2 separate regions of the Homo sapiens genome follow, and region 2 is linked to region 1. The links are contacts of gene promoters, found by promoter capture Hi-C in blood cells and fetal thymus (Javierre and others, 2016). All regions are on one chromosome and are shown on one strand. The core of a region is centred on a gene start or on the middle of the fragment in contact, and the rest is flanking DNA. Distances in the headings are between cores, read along the strand shown.

What was found. The method cuts DNA at HindIII sites, captures the fragments that hold promoters and counts their contacts. A CHiCAGO score of 5 or more calls a contact.
Region 2: a contact is called between a fragment that was not itself captured here and the fragment with the promoter of SULF2 in region 1, in 1 of 17 cell types (endothelial precursors). The highest score is 6.8, in endothelial precursors.

Annotation. Positions count from the first base shown.
Region 1 is chr20:47,780,989-47,786,730 of GRCh38, forward strand. SULF2 (sulfatase 2) reads right to left here and starts at 4,493. Exons shown (of 21, transcript NM_001387048.1): 1 at 4,355-4,493. LOC124904920 (a long non-coding RNA gene) reads left to right here and starts at 4,766. Exons shown (of 2, transcript XR_007067618.1): 1 at 4,766-5,174; 2 at 5,417-5,742. RefSeq lists enhancers at 1,452-1,511, 5,611-5,742. The HindIII fragment of the contact is 4,753 bases long and covers 3,398-5,742 here.
Region 2 is chr20:48,313,687-48,319,428 of GRCh38, forward strand. No RefSeq gene overlaps it. Among named protein-coding and RNA genes, the nearest start is that of LINC00494, 43 kb to the right of the region's middle. The HindIII fragment of the contact is 2,557 bases long and covers 2,043-4,599 here.

The DNA.
Region 1 (5,742 bases), core at 3,243-5,742:
CATCCAGGACCCTCCCTAGAAGTTTGATTCAACAGGATCTGGTCTTTGCCTTTTTAAACAAATACAGCCAGATGATTCTCATGGTGGGAGGTTAGACAAACACTGCCCCTGGCCCCCCGAAAGCACAGGATCAAGGCCAGGCCCCATCCTTCAGACAGTAAGGCAGAAAAGTCAGGCCTTTGATGCCTCCTGGCCCTGGTGGAAGGGAGAGGCATTGCCCAGGCAGCGTGTTTCCCCAGTCTCCACCTTGGCCAAAATGAAGATGGGTCCATCTGGCCAGCATTGCTCACATTAGTGGCCCATCATCGCAGGCACTGGCCATCTGCCTCTCCAGCAACCGGGCTTCCCTTTCACTGGGGACTCCCCGTGCTGTTTTATTCCAGGCTTTGGGGTCTCAGCAGTCAGCCTCCATCCAGCTCCAGGGAGAGGCCTGTGAGCCTGGCTTAAGCCAATTGTTGGCAACTCATTTCCTTAGCCAGTGACTGGTTTGGACAAAAAACAGTCCAATCAGAGGGAACCATGGGGCTCAGGTGTGCATTGCCAGATCAGAGGCTTGTTCTTTCCTTTTGGGCTTAAACCAGAGGGGATGAGACCCCTCTGCTCCATGACATCTGTCCTGACACCTAAGTTATGGTAACAGTCAATGCCTACTGAAGGCTCACCTGGGTCAGACGCCCTGCTAAGCACTTGACATTGATCATCTCATTTCATGCTTACCACAAGCAGGAGACAGGTGCTATGATCATCATCATTTGTTGGATGTGAACATCAAGGCACAGAAAGGTTAAGTAGCATGCCCCAGATCCCACTGCTGGGCAGGGAGCCAGGCAGTCTGGCTCTCCTAGCCACGGTGCCCACAGCTGCCAGGGACTGCCCGCCCCAGAGCTGGAGAGACATCAGCCTCATGGAAGGCAGAGGAGCGGTGGATAGGAATGGATTCTCATTACAAAATCTGAGCTGTGGGTCCAGCTGTGTCTGAAGCTAGAGTTAGTCACCTTAAGACTTTTGGTTATGAAAACCAGTAAGTCCACTTCTTTTCTCCTTAAGCTGGCTTGAGTTTTTTTCTTCTCTTTTTCCGTTGCTTGCAAGAGAAAGGAACCTGATTACTTTACAGTTCTTCTAGGCAAGTACCCCTAACTGATACTCCATTTGCAACTTGCACACAGCAGCTGCTCAGTAAACACCAGCAGATACGGATGGACTGCTCTCCCTTCCGGTCCATTCACTGCTGGATCTGTACCCTGACACCCAACTGTGGCCAGCCCAGCGCTTCTTCCCCTTTAGGCTCCAAGTGAGGCCTCGTTCCCTAGCAACCACCCCAATTAGGCAACCATGCCATTTATCGGGATGCCAATTAATTATAACGATCTTAATGCCCTCCCAATTAGACAGTGCCTTCAATCCGGCTGGGCCAGGGCTGTCTGTAGATCTCCACCAAGGCCCATTCCAAGGAGGCCCAGAGAAAGCAGGTTTCAGGGAGGGCCCCCTCACCTGCAGATCAGCATTGAGAGAGGCCCCCATCTTCCACATCCGCCCAGGCCTGACACAGAGCACCCTGGCACCACCCCCAGGGCCAGGCCATCGAGACTCCATCACCAACCACAGGAAGGTCTCACCTCTAGGAGAGCTTTTGCTCTCTGGCCACTGTGCTCTGAGTGGGCTGAAATCTTCACCATGGTTCACCTGGCTTTTCCATCAGCTGCATTTGATGTTTCCCTTTGCATTTTGACTGGGGGAGGGGACAGTGTGTCTGCTCATAAGCAGAAGAAAAAGCACCAGGCAGACACATGTTTTCCTTGGGGCAAAAAACCTCAAATACAAACCCGGACTCTCTGTCGGAACAGTGGGGGTTTATGGAAAGTTAAGGGCCTTTTACTTTGCAAAGTTTGACTGTCTGAAGGTGTTTTCTTCCCCTGCATATGTGTTTCTTCTACATCTGGGACAAAGGCCAAGGTCATGGAGGAGAGTCCAGTGGTTCCAAGTGGACCCCGGAGCTTGAGGGCCTCTTGAATCCCAGCTCTACCTGTGACCAGCTGTAGGCAAGTCACAATCCTCTCTGTGCCTGTTTCCTCATCTTTAATATGGCAACAATGGCAGTACTTACTTAACAGGGTATTTGTGTGGATTTAATGAGTAAGGTATAAGGGCTTAGATCAATGCCTCAGATCAGGCCCATACAAAACTACTTAAGTGTTACCAATTATCTTAAGTCTGGACTAAACCTTTTCTTTTAACTACAAGCTGGTCAGAAATGCTGATATTTTTCTGTAGGACAGGGCTTCTGGACTCCTTCTGCAGGACTAAAGTCTAAGGTCAGATAATGGCCAAAGCTTGACAGAGTTGGGTGATATTCTGCCTGGTTAACCCAGCTGCCCTCTTGAGGCAGGTCCAAGCAGATAAACTAACCAGTGCCAGAAAAAGTGAGAAGGAAATGTTATCTCCCAAATCAGGTCCAAATCAGGTGTGAAACTGCATATCAACTGGGTTCTTTGGACAGCAGCTGAACTGGGGGACATGCACGTGCATGCACACACACTGCTATGCTGTCCTCCTCCAAGACCAGACTTTTACAGTCAACTCATCACTCTACTCTCAAGTTTGAAAATTTAACATGTTATTAGGGTTTCAGAAAAAGCCATAAATTCAAATAAAAAACCCAAGAAGTACACACAAAGCCCAAACCCCAAACCCACATTGACCCTCAGCTGCAGCAGTGATGCCAACATCACGGCCTTTATGTATATAAATTTAGCTGGGGAAGGAAGAGGCCTTCATGTACAAAGGTCCAACATGCCATCTGCCAAGCCCACCACCTTCGCCTTTCAAGCTGCTTATTAGAACGCTAAATTACACATCCGACAGGCTGTCTGGATGAGTTTTCTCTTCTCTATGATGTGGGAGAGACGAAGCTGGGGAGAACATCTCTTACAGGGAAGGGGCCCCCTTCGTTCTGTCCTCCCTACCCCGTTCCTATACTTAACGATTGGCTCTAATTTAATTAGAACCCTCTGGTGGTTCTGTAATGGGAGGCAGAGGCTGTCAAGAAATCACCTTCACTATTCACTACAAGCTGAAATTTGGAGAGCGCGCAGATCCGGGGGTGTCCTCCAGAGAAAGCCCGTCTCTCCTGCTCCCTGTCTCCCCCTGAGAACCTGCTCCAGCGCAGCCTCCCCTTCTCTGCCCCAAAAGTGGGGGTGGACCCGGTGGGAAACAGGCAGGGGACAGATGGAGGGGCGAGAGGGCGGGTGTCCCAACACGCACAGATGAGCAAATACCCAGATTGAAACGTAAGCTGAATGTAATTACTTGGTTAATTAAATATTGACTTTTAACTCAAAAAGTGATTAAAACAAGCTGCAGGAAGACTTTCCAGAAAGGGGGGCAGGGAATGAATCAAAGCTTTCAAGGGGGAGGAGGAGGAGGAGAGGGTCGTCACAGGCAGGTCTGGCTTGCTCTTCCTACTGTGTGCTGGGCCTACTGCGTGCAGGTGGGGGAGTTGCGGACCGAGGCCAGTGTGCAAACTAGGATTGCAGGCTTCCCTTTCCATCTTCCACCCCGAGACGGCATCTCTCTACCCTGCTGCCCTCCCAGTGAACCGGCAGCTTCTGGCGCGCAGGAGCCAGATCCTGTTCAGCCGCGTTTCCCTGGAACAGAACGCGGTGCCCGGCACGAGGGGGTGCTCCAGAAATGCTTGTAGAACGAATGAACGAACTACTATAAGGAATGTTTGGAAAAGTGCACTCCTAGAATTCACCGCTAGACTTCTGAAACCCCGAGGAGCCGGGGAGGGGAGCATCCCTCCGCCAGGCGATGGAAACTCGTTCTGCCCTGGCCTGGGAGGAAGTCTGCCTTTTCGATCCTGTTTGTCCTTTCGGTGTCTGCGAGTTTCCAACCACTCTGAAGATCCGGCCCACTGCTTCCCCGAGTCCTGCCCGGACAAGCCCCACGTGGGCTGGCATCTACCGGTCCCTTGGGTCTAAACCCTAAGGGTCAACAAGGCCATGCCCCTGCGGATGGCCGGCCCAGGCGCGCTCCCCTACCCGGGGCCGCCTGTGCTCGGTGTGCCGTGTCCGCGGGTCAGGGGCGCGGCGGGAAGTCCTCGCCCGCCCGCCAGCCAGCGGGGTCAAACAGGTCATCCCTCTGCGGACGGCCGGCGCCGGAGCCTCCCTCCCGCCCGCCCGGACCCACCTCCGCAAGCAGCGCTGGGGCTGGAGCCGGGCGGTCCGGACCAGCCCCGGCTCACCTGGGCGGCGCTCGCGGCCGGGCTCACGCCGGGGAAGGCTCCGGCCGCCGCGAGCCCCCGCCCGAGCCCCGCGTCCCCCAGCCACCCACCTGCCCCCCACGCCCCACTCACCAGCGCGCACGGCCCCGGCAACCTCACCCGGAGCGGGGCGCCGCCGCCGCCTCTGCCGCAGCCCGGCCGGGCCGCTGGGCGCAGGGGACTCCGCGCCGCCGCTGCCGCTGCCGCCGCCGCCGCCGCCGCTGCCGCTGCTGCATCCCCCGGCGAGCGCTGCTGCTCCTCCTCCTGCCTCCTCCCCGCCCCCCAACGCCGCCGCCACCGCCCCCGGCCCCCTCCCCGCGCGCCGCCCCAGCCAAAGTCCGGCTCCGCACCCCGCCCGGACCGCTCTTAAATCGCCCCAGCCCGGCCGGCCACGCTGCCCCAGCCAGCCCCTTGGCACGGCGCTACCGCCCCCCGCTCGCCTGCCCGCCGGCCTCCACGCAGGGGAGGCGGGCGCGCTCCGGGGCGGGGAGCGTCGGGCCGGGAGCCGCGGACGGCTGGGGCCCGGGGCGCGGGGGGCCCAGCCGCGGTGCCCTCCTCGAGCCCTCCGCGCGCTAGCGCTTTTACCTCCGGCCTGGGGGACGCGCGGCCCGCGACCCGGCCCTGCCTGTCCCCGGCGCACGGCCCCGGCCCCGGCCCCGAAGTCCAGCTCCGGACGGGGCAGTGAACGCAGAGCTGGGGTCCCGGCGGCTCTCGACCTCCCGATGCCTCCGGACTCGGCTGGCCGCGCTCCCGGCGCCGAGCGCGCACCCTCGCCGGGACACACAGACGCACACTCACTCGACACACTCTCGCTCCTGCTCGCCCTCGGCGGAGAGTTGAAACAGATGTGGGATTCGCCCAGGAGCTGGAAACGAGGGAGGGAAGCGAGCCAGAGCCTTGTGTGCACGTGTGTGTGCGTAACACACAAACCAGGGGGCATCGCTAATAAATCAAATATCGTGATAAATTCAGGAGGGCCATCGATCAGGTCCACTTGGCTGGAAACGACGTGAATCTGCCTCTTTTCCGCTTTCTTCTTCTCCTCTCTCGGAGCTGGAGGGAGCCAAATGTTCCGCGGGGAGTGCGACAGCCCCGGCCGGGCGCTCCCCTCGTAATGACACGTTAATAAATGTTTTCTTTTATCTGCTTTCACAGGACTCGCCCCGGTCTGCAAACACTCGACTGCCTTTGCCGAAAGCCTCGCGCTCGCCTCCAGCCACACACATTTGCCATTGGAGAGGCCGGCGCCGGCCGCGACCCGCAGCTCAATCGCAGGGCAAACCGAGCTGCCTGTGCGCGCCCGAGAACTCCCCGAGAAATTAACTTCGGCTCAAGTGAAAATAGCAGCTGTTGTCCAGAAATGGCCCGGGAGTAGCATAGAAAGGAGAAACCGGCTTCCTCCGAAAGGGGAGGAATTGGACTCAAGGGGGTGCTGTCTACCGTGGTTTCCGCTGTCCCTCGCGCCACAGAAGAGGCCGGAG
Region 2 (5,742 bases), core at 2,071-4,570, 530 kb after region 1:
GCAGCATCTCATCTACCCCAGTGGATGCAAATTCTTCCTCTGTTTCTCCAACACAAACAACGCTGCAATGAACAGCCTTCTCAACTTTTCCTTGACCTGTGTGAGTGTTGCTTCAAGTTAGATTTTTAAACAAAAAAGTGTATCGTACAAAACTGTATTTTCTTCTCAAAGAGTAAAAATAAGCTTTCTGCTAAATGAAATTTCATTGGAAACTTTGAAAATGCCTGAACTTAAATATTTAATCCATCACTACCCATTTAATATGAAGCTCCAGGTAATTGGCATCCATTCTCCACATCTGGCTTTTTGTTGAATTAGGCACAGTTGTAATTTGTGGTTAGCCCAGGGATGGTGAAATTTTGAGTCTCTTGGCTGGAAAGGACTCACAGAGAACCTCTTGCTGAGAAGAGACAAATTCAGCATCCTTTCCCCAGTCCCCTCCCCTGTGTTTATTTGTCCTGACCATAAATGTGCACCCTCTGCTGTGTGTAGATCTGCAGCTGCAGGAAATGGCAGACAATCACCTTGCAGGGTTTTTTCCTGGTCTCAGAACCCCAATGTCATTTTGCATTTTGCTCCCCTGTATTTAGCCCAGGAAGGGGGTTAGGGAAAGTCACAAACTGCCCATGCAGTGAAGTCTTCAACCTTGCCAACCTTTGCTCAGGCCTGTCTGCACATTCCCTGCATTTATGGTTAAAACCCCTTTCCTTTTCCCCATTATAATTTCTCCCTAGGACCCTAAGATGGAACAGGCCTGTGGACTAGGCAGGATTCTTCACAGCTGGTTTGATTGCTCAAGGCTGAGCCGGTCTCTGTTTGGCTGCAAAGATTAACTGAGCTCCATCAGCAGATCAATTAATCACTAACAAATTCAGGCTGATGAGTTTTTCATTCCCTTTCAGGCCACAGGACATGTTATAGACAGACTGCCAAGTCATTTTAAACCTGTGAACATTCAAATTGCTTCAGAGCTGAGCCTATTCTAGAACGTAGCAATTTTGAGCCTTTGTGCAGCTCTGATTCTTCATAAGCCGATAATGGGTATGTGGGGAGCATAAAGCGAGATTGGATGGCTTCCATTTAGGATGGCAGAAATGGAAATCTGAACAGAAGTAGAGGAATCATCATTAACCTTCACAATGGCGTCCACACCTCTAGAGGTGGGAAGCAAGAACGTTTAAGCAACTGTGCTGTTTACTGGGCACTCAACTTGGCCAGTAAGACACTGGTCAGGCCAGGGATATCTGGGTTCCACTAAAATAAAGATCGTTTCCAAATGGGTGATGACTGGCATGGCTAGGGGGTGGGGAGGCATGGGCAGTCCAGAGAAGAAGGAAAATAGTTCATTTACAAGTCCCTTTTTGGGAGGGATGAGAGAATGATGAAAGCTAAGGTTTGTCTAGCATTGGCCAGAAATTAACTCCCAGAAATTGACATGATCAGCAATAATGATTATTCCATGTGAACATGGCTTCTTTGGTGTAAATTTCCTAATTTGAGTTTCTGGCATCCATTTTCCCATCTTGCGGTAACCAGACCCTAGTAACTAAGCAGTCACTCTCCCATTGCCCATCACTGGGTTCAGGAGGAGCTCCATGTTTGGATCTAAGGGTGGAGCATGTGACCAGGTCTGGCCAATCAGCTGGTAAATCCCCGTGACCAGGAAGTGGTTCAGGATGAGCACGTGACATGAGTTAATCCAAGCAGAATGAGCCTTGGTTCTAGAGCAGGAGTGACCAGGAGAGATGCTCCCTGGGACAGGCGGTGTTAGATGTCCACCCAACAGCTCCCCACCCCTTAGTTCCCCAGTCCACAGGCTGAGAGTGCCCGTTCCTTGCTTTCCCATCCTCCTTTGCAGAGAGGGCAGAGTCACATGACCCAGTCCAGCCAGTGGAATCTGAGAGAGCATCTGGTGGGGTGTGGGGTGTGGGGTGGGGAGGTGGAGGGTTCTGGGGGGGATTTGCCCCATCTGGTAAAAGAGATGTTCTTGACAAGAGGCTTCCCTTTCTACCTGTATTGGATGCTGTTGGGTGAATGCCACAAGCTTAGAGCTAGGGCAGCCATTTTTTCATAAGAAAGAAAAAGTACATATATACTCAGAGTGCTTACATTTGGAGTTACTGAATCACTCTCAGAGCTAACTATACTTTCAGGCTCCTTGTGTAAAAAGAAAAAAGAAACTTCATAAGTAAGCTACTTTTAGACAAGATTCTGTTACTTATATTGATGTGTAAACAGAGCTACTGGGAGCCGTGTTGCTATCCTATTGAGCCCTGGAATGATGCTATCATAAAGAAGAGCAGGACTGAAACTGTCTTGGTGGCTTTCTTTGAGCCCCTAGATCCACCTGTACCTGGAACCTTACCTCTGAGTTGTTCCATTACATGAGCCAATGCATTTTCTTTTTGCTAATTCGATGGTGGGGGGTTATGTACCTTTTTTTTTTTTTTTTTTTTTTAAGACGGAGTCTCACTCTGTCACGCAGGCTAGAGTGCAGTGGCATGATCTTGGCTCACTGCAACCTCTGCCTCCTAGGTTCAAGCGATTCTCCTGTCTCAGCCTCCCGAGTAGCTGGGATTACAGGTGTGCACCACCATGCCCGGCTAATTTTTGTATTTTTAGTAGAGACGGGGTTTCCCCATGTTGGCCAGGCTGGTCTCGATCTCCTGACCTCAGGTGATTTGCCCACTTTGGCCTCCCAAAGTGTATGTGCTTTTTATAATTAAAAACATCAAAACTTATAACTTCGGCATAACAAAGGATGGCATAAACGAAGACAAGGAAGAGCTTTCCGGCTCATACATTACAAAGGATTAATTTAATATGCTGTAAAGCAACAAGAAAAATACAGATAATTTGACAGAAAAATGGATAAAGGATATGAATGGATTGTTTACAGAAGTGAAATGCAAATAACCAATAAACACAACAAAGATGAGAATTTGACCTTTAATTAAACAAATGAAAATGACTATTAAATTCACCTATCAGATTGGCAAGACAAACCCTTCAAGGCTGTGGGTAAACAGATACTCCTATTGTTCTAACTAAATAGGTACGGGCAGCTTGGCAGGTAACTTGTCAATAGCTATCAAATTAAAATAAGAATGCTCAGACCTTTTGTGTAAATCAGGTTCCATGCAGGAAAATGGGAACCACTCCAATCTGAAAAACAGAGAGCAAGAGTCAGTTCCACAGGTGATGGAAAGGCTAGGGGCCAAATGGCAGAAACTGAGTCAAGACAGAGAAGAAGGAAGCCTCTAGCAGCTCTAGGCATAATGAGAAAATGAAGAAGTGTAACTCCTGGCACCCACATCTGGGGTGACCCAGGAGAAGACAGAGAAGCACACAGGGGCTCTTCAGAAGCTGAAGCCACGGAGGAAGCATGGTTACTGTTTGAGGCAAAGTAAGAGAAGAGAAAAGAAGTGTTCAGATCTTCACTTCCAGAAAGAGAGTGGATACATTTTTCCTCCTCTTCTTGCTAAGTACAGCTAAAACCCCTGCAAGTATGTATAAAACAAACCTAAGCCTCTGAACAGTGGAGAGAAGAAGGCAGACCAGCAGGGCCCTCGGGATAGGAGAAATGACAGGACAGTGAGTTCCTGGGGTTTTCTTTTGCCTTCTTTATTGTGGACTGGGTGCTGGAGAAGCTGACAACCTGGAAATGCCAACAAGCACAGACAAAAGGGAAATATCAGGAAGAGCCTGTCTTCTCTACCTGAAGGGCAAGAAATAGGGCAGCCTAGCAAGACACAAAACTTTTGGACAACCACCCCATGCCGGACAAACGACATGGAAAAACCTCAGCCCACCCTCATCCATGCCAGTGAAGAGCAAGTGAGGAACCTGAACTTCCACCTCCACCTAGCTGTAGCAAGGCACCCAAACCCCGACTGGGGTGGTGTTGGAGAAGGCTGGGCAGGAGCCTAGACTTCCACTCTCACCTGATGTAAGGAGCCTCCCACCCACATGGTGCCCAGTGGAGGCTGGTGAGGAGCCCTAATGAGATATCATTGCACCTCCAAACCAGGGTGCTCAGAGACTCGTTGGGACACTGAGTCCTCACCCCCACCCAGCAGTAATGCGATGTGCCTCCCACCCCAGGGTATAAGTGGAGGCCAAGTGGGGAACTGGGGCTCCACCCAACCTGGCAATAACGAGGCGCTGTTGCTGAACCCCCACCCCCAGTGTGGTATGAAAGGACGTCTGCTAACACCTGGAGATTTGGGTAAGATCTCGAGTCTCCTAGCATGCTGCCCAACATGGCAAGGAGTCCATCAAAAATCACTCCTACCAAGAACCAGTAGCAGCTTAAGTTAATGGGAAAAGACAAGCAACAGATGCCAACATCAAGATAACACAGATGTCGGAATGATTTCATAGTTATTTTAGAATGGTCATTGTAAAAATACTTTCATGTGCTGAAAATGAGTCAAAATATAGAAAGTTTTAGCGAAGAAAAGAAAAGTTTCAGTAAGGAAATAGAAAATATAACAAAGAACCAAGTGGAAATTTTAGAACTGAGAACACACAATAACCAATTTTTTAAAAAAATACTAAATACCTGGGCTCAATAGAAGAATGGAAAAGATGGAGGGAAGCTTCTGCGAGCTGGAAAATCGACCAGTAGAAATGAGTTATCCTGAACAACAGAGAGAAAATAGAAAAAGGATTGAACAAACAGCGCTCTAAGCCTCCGCAGGAAAACTGCAGACCCCGGCCCCCGTCATCCCCAATGATTTCTGCTCTCCAGAAAGCACCACTTTTTATCTCTTCTAGCTGTTTATCATTCTCTTTCTTTCTTTCTTTCTTTTCTTTGCTTTTCTTTTCTTTTCTTTCAGATGGAGTCTTGCTCTGTCTCCAGGCTGGAGTACAGTGGCACGATCTCGGCTCACAGCAACCTCTGTCTCCCAGGTTCAAGTGATTCTCCTGCCTCAGCCTCCCAAGTAGCTGGGATTACAGGTGCCTGCCACCACACCCAGCTAATTTTTGTATTTTTAGTAGAGAGGGGGTTTCACCATGTTGGCCAGGATGGTCTCGATCTCCCGACCTCGTGATCTGCCCGCCTCAGCCTCCAAAAGTGCTGGGATTACAGGCATGAGCCACAGAGCCCGGCCCTATGTCTATATTTCTAAGTAATATGTTTCTGTTGCTACCAGTTTTTTTCTGTAAACATTATCTATCGCCTATCTGCTATGATCAATGAATATTTGCTTCATAGAGGTGCTCCTCTACCCATTCTCCCTGGCCCATCAACTGGTAGAGTTACCGAGACTTCATGCAGTGTCCACACTAATGTAATGGAGTAAAAAGTCTTCATAGTTGACTCGTGTGGTGTAGACTTTAATTGCCTTGTTTCTATAGCATTTTTGCTTTCCCTAGATATAAACGATCTACTTCCACTTCTTTAGTTTTCTCCATAGCTGTCACTAATTCATCCTTAAATTCTTAGCTCTGTCTATAACCCATGTCTCAATGTGATCACACCCTCAGGTTAGGGGGATGGTTTTGTGTTTCACTGGCAACACTCCTCGGAGTAACGGCTGCTCTTTGGATCTGCTTCAGAACAGTGATCTAGACATTTCCGTGGTGCTTCAGATCCATCCTGGGGACCCTTTCCTACATCCTGTGTCTGGGATCCCACAGCATCTCCATTCTAGATCTGTCTCTCCTTTGGGTGGAACACATCTTCCTCTCACAGCTCTGAGAAAGGGCCCAAGAAGCTGGTTCTCCATGACCCTG